2 separate regions of the Homo sapiens genome follow, and region 1 is linked to region 2. Evidence: promoter capture Hi-C in human tissues and cell types (Jung and others, 2019). All regions are on one chromosome and are shown on one strand. Each heading gives the region's core, a stretch centred on a gene start or on the middle of the fragment in contact. The rest is flanking DNA. Distances are from core to core; before and after follow the strand shown. Region 1 overlaps CBX7 (chromobox 7). Region 2 holds the start of APOBEC3F (apolipoprotein B mRNA editing enzyme catalytic subunit 3F).

Region 1 (3,134 bases), core at 294-2,793, 96 kb before region 2:
ACTGAGAATCTCAGAAACATAAACTTGAGAATTGAGGAAACATGAGAGGCTGGAGTTTCAGAATCTAAGAAACAGAATCTTTTTTTTTTTTTTTTTTTTGAGACGGAGTCTCGCTCTGTCGCTCAGGCTGGAGTGCAGTGGCGCGCGATCTTGGCTCACTGCAAGCTCCACCTCCCGGGTTCACGCCATTCTCCTGCCTCAGCCTCCCCAGTAGCTGGGACTACAGGCGCCCGCCACCACGCCTGGCTAAATTTTTGTATTTTTAGCAGAGACGGGGTTTCACCGTGTTGGCCAGGATGGTCTCGATCTCCTGACCTCATGATCCGCCCGGCTTGGCCTCCCAAAGTGCTGGGATTACAGGCGTGAGCCACCGCGCCCAGCCAGAAACAGAATCTTAGAATTGTAGAACTACAGCCTTGGAATGTCAGACCCCTAGAAGTGTGTCATTTTTGAGTGGGCCTCCTGTTCCAGCCTTCAGTCAGTTGGGGACCCAAGTCTCTGCAGCATCCCGGAGTACCCACGTCGTAGGTCTTGGGGGCCTTTCCTGACCTCAGTGCTTTGCAGTGACAGGGACGTGGATCTTGGAGCAGTGCAGTCACAGGTTGAGTCTCCCTGATCCAAAATCCAAAATGCTGCCATGTGCGGTGGCTCATGCCTGTAATCCCAACACTTTGGGAGGCCGAGGCGGGTGGATCACCTGAGGTCAGAAGTTCAAAACCAGCCTGGCCAACATGGTGAAAACCTGTCTCTACTAAAAATACAAAAATTAGCTGGGGATGGTGGCGGGCACCTGTAATCCCAGCTACTCAGGGGGCTGAGACAGGACAGTCACTTGAGCCCGGGAGGTGGAGGTTGCAGGGAGCCAAGATCATACCATTGCACTCCAGCCTGGGTGATAAGAGTGAAACTCCGTCCCCTGCCGCCCCGCCCCCCCACCCCAACAAGAAAAACAAGATCTGAAATGCTCCAGAATCCAAAACATTTTGAGCACCAAAATGATGTTCAAAGGAAGTGTTCATTGGAGCAGTCTAAATTTCAGATTTTTGGATTGGGGATGCTCAGCTAGTATATATAATGCAAATATTCCAAAATCCTAAAAAAATTCGAAGTCTGAAACACTTCTGGTTCCAAGCATTTCGGATAAGGAATGCTCTGCCTGTGTGTGGTTGTAGGTAAGCCTCTTCACCTGTAAAATGGGTATGAAGAGAATACCCGCTCTCCTTAATGTAATAAGACCCACCAGGCAGGATATTGGAAGCCAGAAAGTCAGGATTCTTGGTCCACTTGTATGTGGTCCATGTCAAGCGTCCTTGGCCACTCCTGATTAAAACCCATGGAGGCTTTCGCCAGAGGGGGTGGGCCTCCCTTCATGCAGTGGGCATGTTCCATTGGGTTTGGCATGAATTGAGCCTAGGAAGGGAAGTAACATCTCCTGGACGTCTGTGTGCCAGGCTGTCTGCCCAGTGTGCCTCACAGATGAATATACTCCATCCACATACTAAGCCTACAGGGCAGGTGTGTTCGTTATCTCTTCCCCTCTAACATGGCAACTCAAAGCAATAAACATTGATTATTTCACATGGCTTCTGGGGGTCAGGAATTTGGAATTGTGCTAGCTGGTTCTTCAGTGGTTCTAGTCTGGGCTGCAGTCAAGGTGTTGGCTGGGCTGCAGTCATCTGCAGGCTCGACCAGGGCTGCGGGATCTGCCTCCGAGGGGGCTGCTCACGTGCCATCGAGTCAGGGCTGGACGTTGACAGGGACTGGTCCTCACCATGTGGACCTCTCCAGAGGGTTGCTTGAGTGTCCTTACAGTGCAGCCACCAGCTTCCCAGAGTGGGTGACCTGAGAGAGAGAGCAGGGAAGAAGCCACAGTGTCTTTTATGCCCTAGCCTGGGAAGTCACACAACACAGCACTGGGTGTGGGAATGGACGGCGCATAGGTGTGAATTCCAGGAGGTGGGTGTGGTTGGGGCCCTCCTCGGAGGCTGGCTCCTACAGTCTCTTCATTGTTTCGCTGAGAAAGAAACTGAGGCCCAGGGAGGCCGGTAGCTTACCCAGGACCTGACTGTTGGCACCCGCGTCCCTTTAGTAGCTGTAGTTCTCTCGTGATGAGGTTGCCAAGGACGTAGAAGACCCTGCCTTGCAGAATGGTAGAATGTACTGGGCTTCTTTTTTTTTTTTTTTTTTTTTCCCAGACAGAGTCTCGCTCTGTCGCCCAGGCTGGAATACAGTGGTGCGATCTCTGCTCACTGCAAGCTCTGCCTTCTGGGTTCAAATGATTGTCCTGCCTTAGCCTCCCAAGTAGCTGGGATTACAGGCACCTGCCACCACACCCGGCTAATTTTTGTATTTTTAGTAGAGATGGGGTTTCGCCATGTTGGCCAGGCTGGCCTTGAACTCCTGACCTCTGGTGATCCAGCTGCCTCGGCCTCCTAAAGTGTTGGGATTACAGGCGTGAGCCACTGTGCCTGGCCCATACTAGGCTTCTGATGGCCTGTGAGCCCGCTGGGAGGAGTGGGTTTTGAGTCAGCTGCCTACCAGATGTGCCTCCCAGGCACTGCAGTATTTTCCCAGTCCCCTCCCAGTTTAGCCCTCCTCCCATCACTGCAGCAGCCGGCACCTGGGGACATGTGATGCCGTTAACAGGCACGACTGTGAGTGGGACCTGCGTGTGTCATCCCTTCCCTCAGCTTGGAGGTGTTTGACCTCACAGGTCCCATCTGATGGCTGCACTATCTTCCTGGGAGCTCCTGACCTCTGGTAGCAGGTGGCAGGAGAAGGTACTGTCCCAGTGATCCAGAGTCTCCCAACATCTTGGCACCATGAATCTTTTGTAGATTCATGTAAATTCTCCCCAAGTAAATAAGATAAATCCCGACATTACAAACTCCAGGGGTGGACAGACTTGCCCTCCAGCTCCAGATGTGTCGCGGGCAATCAGCAGAGCGGGCTGCAATCACAGAGCCCAGGAGCCCCCTGGAGGGGTCGGGGTGCATCTGCAGGCCAGGTGGAGCCCTGTCCCTTTGGCTGGATAGCATGGGCATCCGGGGCTGTGTGTGCTGCTGGCCTGGCTTTGCCCCAAGCAACTCCAAGAGCACACCTTGGCCCTCTGCCTGCACCATCTCCCGGGTGAG
Region 2 (3,079 bases), core at 429-2,928:
TCAGGAGTTTGAGACCAGTCTCACCAACATGGTGAAACCCAGTCTCTACTAAAAATATAAAAATTAGCCAAGCGTGGTAGTGGGTGCCTGTAATCCCAGCCACTGTGGAGGCTGAGGCAGGAGAATCGCTTGAACCTGGGAGGCGGAGGTTGTAGTGAGCCGAGATCGTGCCACTGCACTCCAGCCTGGGCTACAAGAGCGAAACTCCATCTCAAAAAAAAAAAAAAAAAAGAGAGAGAGAATAAAACTATTCACCCCAAAATAATAGATTTTAACCTTTCAGCCAGTTCCTTCTGACATTTCACCTCTGTATATTACTATTGTTAAATCATGGTAGAACCGAATTCTGAGGCCCAGGCCACTCTTCTAAGTGCTGCGCGGATGTGAGCTCATGTGAGGCTGCCCTAGGCCCGCACGGGCCATTCCCATCTTACAGAGGAGGTGCCAGAGGCGCAGAGAGATGGGGTAACCTGCCCAGGCCACAGAGCTGGGGACGGATGGGGCTGGGGCCTCTTACCAGACCAGCCCTGTCCAGTCTCTGTGTCACCAGCCTTGCAGGAGGGAGCCATTGGGGACCAGACTCTCTTCTTACTAAATTTTAAAATAATAGCATTTCTCCTGATCATTGAGTTTTTTTCCCATATATTCCATGTTTTTTGTTTTTGTTTTTTTTTCTTTTGAGACGAAATTTGGCTCTTGTTGCCCAGGCTGGAGTGCGATGGGGCGATCTCGGCTCACTGCAACCTCCGCCTCCTGGGTTCAAGCGATTCTCCTGTCTCAGCCTGTGGAGTAGCTGGATTATAGGCGCCCGCCACCACACCCGGCTAATTTTGTATTTTTAGTAGAGACAGGGTTTATCCATGTTGATCAGGATGGTCTCGAACTCCCGACCTCAGGCAATCCACCCACCTCAGCCTACCAAAGTGCTGGGATGACAGGTGTGAGCCACCGCACCCGGCCACTATATTCCATGTTACTCGTGTCATTTATAAACAGTGAATGCTGATAGTGGAGGAGGAGCGTGTGTTTGGGGTCATCTGCATCCTCCTCTGCCCACAGTGGAGACATCCTTGGAAGATACGATTTATCTTGTGCTTCAGAGACCATTCCCTCCCCACACCCTCTCCTAAGACTTGCTATTTAAGCAAAGTAAATGTTACAGAAAATCCATCAAAGCACTGTGAACAAAATTCCACATTGCTCTAATCATCCTTTGGTTCAATTCTCCCAGTTCCAGAGTTCAGGAATGGCGGAAAGAACACAGAGGGAGCACCCTCCCAGGGCCGGGAGCACCAGCCCTGCCATGACTTTCGGTGGCGGGGGAGAGTCTCAGCAGGGCACCTGGGCTGGGGCAGGTGGGGAAGCGGCCTATTCAGAAGCAGCAGTGGGGCAACCACAGAGCAGGAAAAAGAGCCTGGCTGGGAGTGGCGGGGGCAGGGGAGCCAGAGGGGAGGGAGCCCAGGGCTGGGGCTGGGGCAGGGGGAGGCCAGGGCTGACGCCCAGCAGAGCCACCAGGCAGGAAGGGGCAGCAGAGGGGCCCAGCGGGTAGAGCGGGCAGCGGTACCTGAAGTGAGGCTTCATCCTTGGCCGGCTAGTCCCGACTAAGATCTTTGTCTGGAGCACCAGGGTTTCACTTTCTGCTCCAGGCTCCAGGTTTCAGGACAGCCCTCCCTAAAGTGACCTCCCAGGGCCTCGTAGTCATGGCCCCTCCCCCTTCCTGCTCAGGCGCTGGTGTAGGAGGCCCTGGGACGCTTTATCTTCCTCAGTCTCTCACCCTCTTTCTGGTTTTCTCTGGGGCCCTCCCCCTGGCAGAGGGACCTCTGATAAAGACAGGCCGCTCTGTGCGGCAGGACCCAAGGCAATTGCAAAGGGAAAGAGAAAGTCATTGCAGCCAGCGCCCGCGAGGTGGGTCCACACCAGGCTGAGCCAGCAGAGCACAAGCCCCTCCCCTGGTGGTCCCGCCCAGCTGGAGCCTCCTCTCCACCATCAAGACAGACAGGCTGATGCCTCCGCAGGGACTCCCGGATCCTGCCCTCGGGGATCATCCCAGAGACGGCCCCCACCCAGCGGCCATGGGGACAGGGAGGGAGAGTAAAGGGCCAGGTGTCTGCCTCTCCCCAGGCCTTCACCCTCGGAGGCCACCGTGGGAGGGAGGGACAGCAGGTGGGTGTGGGCCTCAGATGTCCCACCGGGATGCCATGCGCGCCCCCACACTGAGCTCTTTCCTTCCTGCTTCTCCTTCTTCCCCATCTCCTGCCCGGAGTTCCTCCCTGGTGGGCTGAGCTCTCGCCTCCTCTTGTCCCCATGTCATGGAAGAGCAGTGGCTGGTGTCCCAGGCCAGCCTGTCTGGAGCCTCCCTGCGCGTCTCACAGCTCCCTTCCCCTGGTAGCGTGTTCCCATGGCGCGGTGACCTAAAAATTACACAAGGGATGCATTTGGTTTTTTTGTTTGCTTTTGTTTTTTTGTGTTTTTTTGTTTGTTTGTTTGTTTTGAGACGGAGACTTGCTCTGTTACCCAGGCTGGAGTACAGTGGCGTAATCTCAGCTCACCGCAACCTTTGCCTCCCAGGTTCAAAAGATTCTCCTGCCTCAGCCTCCCATGTAACTGCGATTACAGGCACCCACCCCTACGCCTAGGCTAATTTTTGTATTCTTAGTAGAGACAGTGTTTCTCCATGTTGGTCAGGCTTACAGCCGCCCACCACTATGCCTGGCTAATTTTTGTATTTTTAGTAGAGACAGGGTTTCTCCATGTTGGTCAGCTGATCTCGAACTCCCGATCTGAGGAGATCCGCCCGCCTTGGCGTACCAAAGTGCCGGGATTACAGGTGTGAGCCACCGCGCCTGGCCACAATGTATAAATTTGGAAAGGAGATTTTATTTCTTGTTAAGGGTGACAGGCAGCAAGGTAGCCATCCCGCAGCCTGGGAAGAGCAGCCTCTGGGAAACACCAGAGACAGACATTTAGAAGCAGGAGGGGTTGGGGCAGGAGCTTTATGCTGAAGGGGTTGGCTAAACATACATATTCAACAGGCTATAGGAGGAGCTATGAATATTCATGTGGGTGGCTGCACTCCATG

Evidence for each region. The method cuts DNA at HindIII sites, captures the fragments that hold promoters and counts their contacts. A contact is called where the count stands out against the background at its distance.
Region 1: a contact is called between a fragment that was not itself captured here and the fragment with the promoter of APOBEC3F in region 2, in 2 of the 25 tissues and cell types used here (H1 embryonic stem cells and spleen).

What each region holds. Positions count from the first base shown.
Region 1 is chr22:39,135,148-39,138,281 of GRCh38, reverse strand. All of the region lies in intron 4 of CBX7 (chromobox 7), which reads left to right. Among named protein-coding and RNA genes, the nearest start is that of CBX7, 16 kb to the left of the region's middle. RefSeq lists an enhancer at 2,203-3,134. The HindIII fragment of the contact is 3,206 bases long and covers 1-3,134 here.
Region 2 is chr22:39,039,463-39,042,541 of GRCh38, reverse strand. It overlaps APOBEC3F (apolipoprotein B mRNA editing enzyme catalytic subunit 3F), which reads right to left and starts at 1,678. Exons shown (of 7, transcript NM_145298.6): 1 at 1,565-1,678. The coding sequence starts at 1,581. RefSeq lists enhancers at 1-756, 1,809-1,868. The HindIII fragment of the contact is 19,854 bases long and covers 1-3,079 here.